2 separate regions of the Homo sapiens genome follow, and region 2 is linked to region 1. The links are contacts of gene promoters, found by promoter capture Hi-C in human tissues and cell types (Jung and others, 2019). All regions are on one chromosome and are shown on one strand. The core of a region is centred on a gene start or on the middle of the fragment in contact, and the rest is flanking DNA. Distances in the headings are between cores, read along the strand shown. Region 1 holds the start of IKBKB (inhibitor of nuclear factor kappa B kinase subunit beta). Region 2 overlaps SMIM19 (small integral membrane protein 19).

The links. The method cuts DNA at HindIII sites, captures the fragments that hold promoters and counts their contacts. A contact is called where the count stands out against the background at its distance.
Region 2: a contact is called between a fragment that was not itself captured here and the fragment with the promoter of IKBKB in region 1, in 1 of the 25 tissues and cell types used here (heart left ventricle).

What each region holds. Positions count from the first base shown.
Region 1 is chr8:42,269,230-42,274,587 of GRCh38, reverse strand. It overlaps IKBKB (inhibitor of nuclear factor kappa B kinase subunit beta), which reads right to left and starts at 3,286. Exons shown (of 22, transcript NM_001556.3): 1 at 3,119-3,286; 2 at 2,383-2,505. The coding sequence starts at 2,487. It overlaps IKBKB-DT (IKBKB divergent transcript), which reads left to right and starts at 3,338. Exons shown (of 4, transcript NR_185843.2): 1 at 3,338-3,937. RefSeq lists a silencer at 3,006-3,295 and an enhancer at 3,792-4,291. The HindIII fragment of the contact is 8,594 bases long and covers 1-4,455 here.
Region 2 is chr8:42,544,516-42,549,873 of GRCh38, reverse strand. SMIM19 (small integral membrane protein 19) reads right to left here. Exons shown (of 4, transcript NM_001135674.2): 2 at 3,268-3,405; 3 at 1,094-1,218. The coding sequence starts at 3,401. Among named protein-coding and RNA genes, the nearest start is that of SMIM19, 5.6 kb to the right of the region's middle. The HindIII fragment of the contact is 4,156 bases long and covers 604-4,759 here.

The sequences.
Region 1 (5,358 bases), core at 2,037-4,536:
GCACTCCAGCCTGGGCGACAAGAGCAAAACTCCGTCTCAAAACAACAACAACAACAACAACAAACTAATCTCGCAGAAGTAGAAAGTAGAATAGTGGTCACCAGAGGCAGGAAAGGGTGGTGGGGGTGGGGGGAGTTGTGGAGGGAAATAGGGAGAGACTGGTTAATGGGTACAAAATTACGGTTAGGTGGAATAAGTTACAGTATTCTAAAGAACAACAGGGTGACTACAGTGAATAAAACTTTATTGTATATTTCAGGCCGGACGTAGTGGCTCACGCTTGTAATCCAAGCACTTTGGGTGGCTGAGGTGGGCAGATCACCTGAGGTCAGGAGTTTGAGACCGGCATGGCCTACATGGTGAAACCCCATTTCTACTAAAAATACAAAAATTAGCTGGCATGGTGGTGCACACCTGTAATTCCAGGTACTCAGGAGGCTGAGGCAGGAGAATCACTTGAACTCAAGAGGCGGAGGTTGCAGTGAGCCAAGATCACACCACTGCACTCCAGCCTGGGCAACAGTGCGAGACTCTGTCTCCGGAAAAAAAAAAATATTGTATATTTCAAAATAGCCAGAAGAAAGAATTTTGACTGTTTCCAACAAAAAGGATACGTGTTTCAAGTGATGAACACGCCAATTACCCCGATTTGATCATTACACATTATGTATCAAAATATCACACTGTACCCCATAAATATGTACAATTATTATGTGTCAATTAAAAATAAAAACAGGCCAGGTTCAATGACTCATGGCTGTAATCCCAGCACTTTGAGAGGCCAAGGCAGGAAGATCACTTGAGGCCAAGAGTTCTAGACGAGCCTGGACAACATTGTGAGACCACCATCACTACAAAAAATAAAAAAAAAACCTCAGCTGAGGCCAGGTCCCATGGCTCAGGCCTGTAATCCAAACATTTTGGGAGGCAAAGACGGGAAGACTGCTTGAGGATGAGAGTTTGAGACAAGCCTGGGCAACATAGCAAGACCCCATCTCTACAAAATTTAAAAAAATGTTAATTATTTGAAATATGGATTTTCATCATCATTCTAAATGAATTCTCACTTTCATGTGGATCTGCTTATTTTTTGCCGTGCAGTATCGCAAGCAATACTGGGAAGACATCATAATTAGCAAATATTTTAAATATATATATATATATATATTTTTTGAGACAGGGTCTCATTCTGTCACCCAGGCTGGAATGCAGTGACACTATCTCGGCTCACTGCAACCTCTGCCTCCTGGGTTCAAGCGATTCTCCTGCCTCAGCCTCCTGAGTAGCTGAAGTTACAGGCATGCACCACCACACCAGCTAATTTTGTATTTTTAGTAGAGATGAGGTTTCACCATGTTGGCCAGGCTGGTCTCAAACTCCTGACCTCAAGTGATCCTCCTGCCTCGGCCTCCCAAAGTGCTGGGATTACAGGTGTAAGCCACTGCACCCGACATTTAAAATAATTTTTAAAAAATGGTTTTGAAACAAGGTCTCACTCTGTCACCTAGGCTAGAGTGCAGTGGCACAATCATAGCTCACTACAGCCTCAAACTCCTGGACAAGCAATCCTCCCACATCAGCCTCCAATGTAGTGGGACTACAGGTACGCACCAAGGCTGCCTAAGGTTTTTTTTTTTTTTTTTTTTTTGAGACGGAGTCTCACTCTGTTACCCAGGCTGGAGTGCAGTAGCGCAATCTTGGCTCACTGCAACCTCCGCCTCATGGGTTCAAGCGATTCTCCTGCCTCAGCCTCCCAAGTAGCTGGGGACTACAGGCACGTGCCACCAAGCCTGGCTAATTCTTTGTATTTTTAGTAGAGATGGGGTTTCACAGTGTTAGCCAGGATGGTCTCCATCTCCTGACTGCGTGATCCGCCTGCCTCAGCCTCCCAAAGTGCTGAGATTACAGGTATAAGCCACCACGCCCAGCTGGCTGCCTAATTTTTAAACCTTTTTTGTAGAGACGAGGTCTTGCTATGTTGCCCAGGCTGCTCTTGAACTACTGGCCTCAAGGAATTAAAATATTTTAAATTATTTATTTAGTCTCATCCTTTAAATTTTCCTATTTCTATATGTTTTATAACATATAATATCAGTATATATTAGTACATGATATTCTACTGTTACCATATATATATAATAGAGACTAAGAGCTTAACTTTATTTTACTATTTATTTAGGTGACATAGTCAATAAAGCATGGAGACCACTAACCTGGAGTCAGCTCAGAAGTCCTGAAGCCCTCTTCCCAGTCCCCCTATTCACTGTCCCAAGATGACCAAAGCCAAAGGTGAGCCCTTGGCCCAGCAGGATCAGAGAAAGTGGAGGCAGTGAGGAGGGGGCCTGGCTCCCCGCCCCTCCCCAAGCTGCACAGAGGGCCTACCTGATTGTGCCATCGGATGACATTTCCAAATCCCCCTGTCCCAAGGCGCTCTTTCATTTCCCAGGCCCCACATGTCTGCGTTGTCAGGGAAGGTGACCAGCTCATACTGATGTCGTGCTAACTCTATAAGCAATTTGGGATGGGGAAAAAAGGTTAGGATTAAGAAAAAAATGGAGCTCAAAGGGATGGAGAAGGCAAGAGATACCACTGCTCTTGAATGGGAGAGAAGAAAAATACAACTGGTTTTTTATTTTGTAAAGAAACCAATGTGTTTGGTTGGTCCAAACTTTGTGGCAAACTTTTGTCCCTCTCACCCTCCCCCATCCGGTTGCTGTGGCATCAGGCAAGGAAGAAAGTCACCGAGGGAGGCGATGCCCACGCCCTTGCCCTAGCGAGGGGATCCCCAGCTGACTCCACCAGGGGCGCCCGGGCCTGCCCGCCTTCTGCCCGAGGTGGCAGGGGCAGAACCTACTTCTGAGCATCGCCGAGGTCACGTGTTTCTTTACAATGTTCCCATAAATCGCAGGTTCCCCTCAAAGCCACCCACCCCCAAGAAGCCACCCCAGGGAGAGCTGTTTCTCCCGGCTTCCCGAACTCCAACCCGCACAAGTGAAACGCTCCCCAGTCCGCAAGCTGCGACTTCCCAGCGGCACAGAGGGGTCTTCCGGGCCTTGCAGGCAGCGGGGCGGCGGGGCCTGCAGGTGGCACCCGGGCCGCACCCACGAGGGGGACTCACCTGTCGGCAGGGACGCGGGGCAGGGGGCGGGCTCCCCGGGGCGGGGAAGGCGGGGCTGGGGCGGCCAAACCCGGGGCTATGACACCCCCCTGAAAACATTAAAATGCGGGAATCTTAACGCGGGCAGCGCGGCGCGACTTCCTCAAACACTTCCTGCTCTGACGTCACGGAGCACGTTGGCCGCGGCCGCTCTTAAAGAGGCCGCTCCCGGCGCGAGGCAGACCAGGTCCGGATGCTGCGAGTGCTGCGCCTGTCCCGGGACCCTCGACCGGGCGACTCCCCCGGGGCGGGGGTGGCGTGTGGTCTCTAGACAACTGAGGGAAAGTAGACAGACCGTGCTCACCGATTTAAAAGAACAGCCCTGAAATGACCCCCGTTACACCCTGTTCTCTTTAGACAAGTTACTTCCACCTGGAGCGGTTTCTGGGCCCGGGTATGGGGATTTCTTCACCCGGCCCCCTAGGCTTTCACCTCGGTGGAATTTCCCGCGCCCCCGCTGGGATGATTTAGGGACTGTTGGCTAGAACTGCCCTTGCCTACCGCCCTACTGCGGGCGCTCCCCTGTCTGGGGGGTGCTTGGCTGGGTGTGGAGAAGGATCAATCACAGCTGACTCCTCAGAGGTGACAGCCCCTGCCCCCTTAAAAACAAGAAAAGACCTAGCAGTGTGAAGCCAAACTGCACCCCCAGCCCCGGTGACATGAGGAAACCGTGAGGCGCTCAGCCTGAGGTTCATCGTTCATCTCCTTCCTGCTTGGAATCAGAATGTCCTCACTGCTGAGTTTCTCCGTTTTATGGGATTACATTAGTGGACAAAGGAGGTGTGTGTGTGTGTTGCTATATTTTATTCAAGCAGAAAAAAACTACCAAAGGAACCTGAAGATGATAATAATAGCTCACATCTATAGAGTGCTTACACAGTGCAGGGCTCTGTTCTAAATCTCTGTACTTAGATTTCCTTATTCAATCCTCAGGGCAACCCTGTAAATTGGAAAATACTGCATCATCATCATCATTATTATTATTATCTCGCTCTGTCACCCAGGCTGGAGTGCAGTGGTGTGATCACAGCTCAGTGCAACCTCCAACTCCTGGGCTCAAGTGATTCTCCTGACTACAGGTGCGCGGCCGCCATACCTGGTGGCGGGGTCTCACTCACTGTGTTGCCCAGGCTGGTCTCCAACTCCTGGGCTCAAGGGATCCACCCGCCTGGGCTTCCCAAAGTGTTGAGATTACAGGCTGTGAGCCACTGCACCTGGTCTGCATTATTATTATTTCCAAGGTACATGGCTGCTACGTAGATGAGCTGATACTCAAACCCTAGCAACTGGTTCCCGGGTTCTTAATCCGTGGCTAAAAGTAGCATGTTAAGAAGTTCAGAAGGAGGCAAACTGGATTTTGAATCCAGATACTGCTGTTGACTACCTCTGAGGCACGGGGGCTGGTTACTTAAACACTGTGAGAACCTATTTCCTCTTTTAAAATTTAGGCAATATTAGGTTGAATTGCATTTAATTGTCATTTTTTGGAAATTGAAAACAGCCAAAACATCAGTAACAAAGATCAGCAGTTTCATCTGCTTCATTGTAATAGCAGGGGGACAGGCGGGCTCATAGAAAGTCATAGAAAGGAGGCCACCCCAGAGTTGTTGTGAGGGACAAATGAGGTATTGATAGCAGCAGTGCCTGACAGCCCTGGGGTTGAAGTTAACTCAGGGACAGATCTCAACCCAAACATAGGGGTCAATGGTGTCCAGGGCTGTGCTAGGCACGCTGGCTGCTCGGTTTCTCCCCTCTCCCCTCTTCCCTCTCCTTTCTCTTTTTCTTTCTCTCTCTCTCTCTTTTCCTTCCTTCCTTCCCCCTCCCCTCTCCTCCCCTCCCCTCCACTCCCCTCCCCTTCCCTTCCCTTCCCGGCTACTTGGTTTCTTTCTTTTCCTTCTTTTCCTTCCTTCCTATCTCTCCTCCTTCCTTCCTTCTTTCCTTCTTTCCTTTCCTTTTCCTCCCCTCCCCTCCCCTCCCCTCCCCTCCCCTCGCTTCCCCTCCCCTTCCCTTCCCAGCTGCTAGCTTTCTTTTTTTTCTTTCCTTTCTTTCTTCCTTTCCTTTCCTTTCTTCCTTTCCTTTCCTTTTCTTTCCTTTTCTTTCTTTTTTCTTTCTTGACAGGGCCTTTCTCTATCGCCCACTTTGGAGTATAGTGGCAGGATCACGGCTCACTGCAGTCTTGACCTCCTGGGTTCAAGGGGTCC
Region 2 (5,358 bases), core at 1,432-3,931, 280 kb before region 1:
CCACCTGTCTCAGACTCCCAAAGTGCTAGGATTACAGGCGTGAGCCATCACACCTGGCCCCAAGGCTCTGTACTTTTTTTTTTAAACAATACTTATGTTTCTTTAAAAGGATTTTTTTTAATGTGGTAAAACATACATAACATAAACTTTACCATTTTAACCATTTTTAAGTGTACAGTTCAGTGGCATTACATATATTTGCATTGCTGGGACTATCACCACCATCCATCCACAGAGCTCTTCTCATCATCCCCAACTGAACTCTGGACCCATTAAACTCCCTATTCCCCTCTTCCATAGCCCCAGGCAACCACCATTCTACTTTGTGTCTCTGTGATTTGCCTCACGTAAGTGAAATAATCCAATATTTGTCCTGTTGTGACTGGCTTATTTCACTTAGTGTACTGTCTTCAAGGTTCATCCATGTGTAGCATGTCAGAATGTACTTCTTTTTTTTTTTTTGAGACGGAGTCTTGCTCTGTCGCCCAGGCTACAGTCCAGTGGTGTGATCTTAGGCCACTGAAACCTCTGCCTCCCAGGTTCGAGCGATTCTCCTGCCTCTGCCTCCCGAGTAGCTGGGATGACAGGCACCCGCAAGTGTGCCCAGCTTATTTTTGTATTTTTGGTAGAGACAGGGTTTCACCATCTTGGCCAGCCTGGTCTTGAACTCCTGACCTTGTGATCCACCCACCTCAGCCTCCCAAAGTGCTGGGATTGTAGGTGTGAGCCACCACTCCCGGCCAGAATGTCCTTCCTTTTAAGGGCTGAATAACATTCTATTGTATGCACCACACTTTGTTTATTCATTCATGGGCTGAGGACTTATGGGTGATTTCCACCTTTTGGCTATTGTGAATAATGCTGCTATGTTGAATTAAGTTATATGTCTTATTTTGAGCCAGTAACACATGCAAATGGTATAAAATACAAAAGGAACAAAGGATAAGTATCTGAAAAACATATTAAACATCTGAAAGAAGTACTAAGTTTTCATTACTTACGATTTCTAATAACATTTTGCTAAATGAACTCAATTCCAGAAAATCTATTTTAAATGTGCATATGTGTATCTTTCAGCACAGAATATACTTACAAATGGAATACATTTCCAGTTGTTGTCTTAAACGAATCTTGCTTATCGTGTCATAAAAGTTGGGCTCTGACAAAGTTTCCTCTGTAGGTGGCACACTGAATATCCTCATAATTCTCCTTTTGTTCCTAAACACAAAATCCATGCAGAAGAGATGTTTGTATTAATGTCTATAGAGTTGTAATATGCTCATGATCCTGGTCATCAGAAGCTGTGGTAAAAGGACTTAAATGACAAGACCATTTTACTTTCTATTTTGTCTTTGAGAGCTGCTTCCTTGGCTCAAAGTATTCTTTCTTTCACTAAAAAGTATGAGGCTGTGAGAAAAGTAGCTGAACACATCCATTTAACACAACAAAGTGAAGTTCCTCCATTGTGATTCTCCTCAATCCTCCAAAAGCCAAATATCCTATGAGAAAATCACAAACAAGAAAACAGCTGATTTTTCCTCCCTTTCATGACATCCAGATAAAGCTAAATGACTGGGCTGGAGAATAAACTGAATGTGAGCAGATCCTAATTTTGGAAAGTAATGAATAAACATATTTCTTAAATACAATAGGATGGGCTTAGTGGAGACATCTTTTTAAAATTAAGAACAGCGTGCCTCTGCTTTTAAAAGAAACATGGGGAGGCGGCGGTGGCTGTTTTTAGAGGAAAGCGGTCACCTGCCAGGTGATCAGTGATGGTCAGGGTGCCTCCTCTCACCACCCCTAGAGTTCAGCAGCCAACAGGCCAGCTGCTCCAGGAGGGTTCAGCTGAGATCTGGGCGCAAGTGCGGGCTCTGAATGATTCCTCAGGCCAAACGTAAATTATTTCTGGATTACTAATTACCTTGAACTCTCGAATGCCTTTTTACCTTGGGACAGGATACCTGTAAAGCATGTGTCTGCAGAAGCATCCCAATCTAACACTGCTCTTCCTCTTTTTAAAGCATCCCTGCACCTCCCCCTTTTTACTGTACTTCTGGGAAAGGAGCCAGGGAATGTGGAAAAGCAGTTAAATTAAGCTACAACATCTGGAATTAAAGCAGGAAATACTTATTGAAGATTTACACTATATGGCACACCAAGGACCCAAAAGTAAAAGACAAAAAAGACATGTTGTGGAATGGACAGACAAGTAATCAGATAAAACTAACATTGTTTAATAAGTGCTATGATATAGTCATGCACAAAAAACAAGGAAAAGCTTATACTGGCTAAAGGGAGATCTGCTGAATACACAGGAGTCAGTGTTTCTGCATTCAGGGACTTAAGCCAAAAAAAATGTGCTCAATGAAGGGTGACAATGAACCCAGGCTGGATGATAAAATTGGGCTATATTAGAAATTGCAGAATTGAGAGTTTAGTGCAGCTGGCCTGGGGGCTGAGAGTGGTACTTAACTCTTCATTTCTTAAAGCGATGGGGTTTTCTTTTTTTTTTTTGAGATGGAGTCTCACTTTGTCGCCCAGGCTGGAGTGCAATGGCACGATCTTGTCTCACTGCATCCTCCTCCCATGTTCAAGTGATTCTCCTGCCTCGGCCTCCCAAGTAGCTGGGATTACAGGCTCACGCCATCACGCCCAGCTAATTTTTTTATTTTTAGTAGAGACGGGGTTCACCATGTTGGCCAGACTGGTCTTGAACTCCTGACCTCAGGAGGTCCACCAGCCTCAGCCTCCCAAAATGCTGGGATTACAGGTGTGAGCCACCGTGTCTGGCCAGCAATGGGGTTTTCAGAGCCAAACCTTGGCCACCAATGCTTGAGACCAGAGTAGACAGTGTCTTTCAGCACTAGAACAAAAATTATAATGAAATTTCTTTCTTTTTTTTTCTGAGGCGGAGTCTTGCTCTGTCGCCAGGCTGGAGTACACCACTGCAACCTCCAACTCCCTGGTTCAAGTGATTCTCCTGTCTCAGCCGCCCAAGTAACAGGGATTACAGGCACGCACCACCATGCCCAGCTAATTTTTGTATTTTTAGTAGAGACAGGGTTTCACCATGTTGGCCAGGATGGTCTCAATTTCCTGACCTCGTGATCTGCCCACCTCGGCCTCCCAAAGTGCTGGGATTACAGGTGTGAGCCACTGCGTCCAGCCTGATGAAATTACTTTTATGCATTCATTTCATATTTCTTAAACTAGCAAAACTTGTAAATGCACAGTTTTTATCTACCCTGAGAAACAAAAATTTACCTTTTGGCATACATGAAGAGACCGAAGCTAACAAGGATAACTATCAAGTAAACATTGGTGGCTTCATTCCAGGCTTCGTGAACAGTATAATCAATAGAACCATCGTCACCCATCACTCCATAACCCCCAGCCATGGGGCTGTAAGAGAGAAAAGAAAGCAGGGTTTCTTTTAATTAATGATGGTAGCACTGTCTGGAGAAGGGTTGGCAAACATATGGCCTGCTGGCCAAATCCAGTCCACCACCTGTTTGTGTGCGGCCCATGAGCCAAGAATGGGATTTACATTTCTAAGTGGCACATTTTAAATGGTGCAGTTGGCCCTCTCTATCTGACGGTTCTGCATCCACATAATCAACCAACTGTGAATGGAAAATATTTGGGAAAAAATACAAATTTTAAAAAATACATTATACCAACTATTTACATAGCATTTACATTGTATTAGGTATTGTAAGTGCTTAGAGATGATTTAAAGTACATAGAGGATGTGCTTAGGTTATATGCAATACTATGCCATTTTATATCGGGACTTGGGCATCTACGGATTTTGATATCTGAGGGGGTCCTGGCACCAATCTCCCAAATACCAAGGACTGCACCTACACAATATTGATTTTGTTTCAAAGCCCACAAAACCTAAAATATTTACAATCTGGCCCTTTAAGAAACTTGGGATAAAAAATAATATTACTAAAAGGACTGAGCTTGAAATGTTATTGCAGTTTCCAAATTGTAACACCCAGAGGAAAGTAACAGAATACTTTAAAACAGAGACTCTGCTGGGCGTGGTGGCTCAGGCCTGTAATCCCAGCACTCTGGGAGGCCGAGGTGGGTGATCACCTGAGGTCAGGAGTTCAAGACCAGCCTGGCTAACATGGTGAAACCCTGTTTCTCTAAAAATACAAAAAATTAGCTGGGCATGATGGCGGGTGACTGTAATCCCAGCTACTTGGGAGGATGAGGCAGAAGAATTGCTTGAACCTGGGAGACGGAGGTTACAGTGAGCGGAGGTCAGGCAGTTGCAATGCAGCCTGGGTGACAGAGCGGGACTCCATCTCAAAAAACAAAAACCACAGAGACTCAACACCTGGCTGTGCTGCTACAAAAGTGTTGCACAGCAGCCTAGCAAGGATGTGACAGCCAGAACATGGCTCTCTCACCCCGCATGCCTCCCACACTGGGAAACGTTTAGAGCTTTATCTAGTTTTGGCCTGCTGGACAAATTTGGTTGAAAGAAGCTATGGGATGAAAAGATACATTTTGCTATTGACACAGCTGTGACATCTACCCTAGGAAATGCATTCTTTGGACATTCCCACAGAAAGTTAGAGTGGTCACAGCAAGTGCATCAAACAGCAAGTAAAAGTAATGACTTCTTCTTTGTGTTTGAGAAGTTAACTGAATTTTTCTTTAAAGAGAGTTCCTCCCTTGTGTTGGGACATAAAAGGTAAGTCTAAGTAAAATGACCTAATATGTAAAGAAAATCCAGAAGTGTTGTTTTAGACACTCTATATACAGGAGAAAAATGGACAAATATAAGTGATAGTTGCACTGTAGTTTCTGAGAATCAGTCATTTTCTAATACCAAGAAAAACAGTCTAAAAAGTTGTTTGGTGATTTTTTTCTACGCTGCCTACAACAATGAAGGCATTACAAAAATTCTTTCACTAAAATGTCTTGCAGGAGTCCATGCTGTAAACCTCCAAAGTGTTCATTAGTGTAGATTTGGCCAGCTAGTTAATATACATGTTTTGAGGGCAGAGTTCTTTCTTTTAGCTTGCCTCTATATGAGAAAAATGAAATTTCAGGAGAGGTCTGTTCCTAAGCCACATGGCATGTTTCTGCCTTTCTGACAACGTGACTTTGTCAGATGTTTGGGGACATACTGTACTCCTTTAGAATAAAGTGAGTATCATGAACAGCCATTTAACTTCAACTCTTCACACTGAGGGCAGGAGTGATTTGACTAAACTAACTATGGGTGTCTGCTGAATATAAAGATTTGTCTCGTGAAAATTAGCCAGAGAACAATAAAAACAGAAATTAAGTTGTAAAAATTTGCAGATGCACTATCTAAATATTGTTTAAACA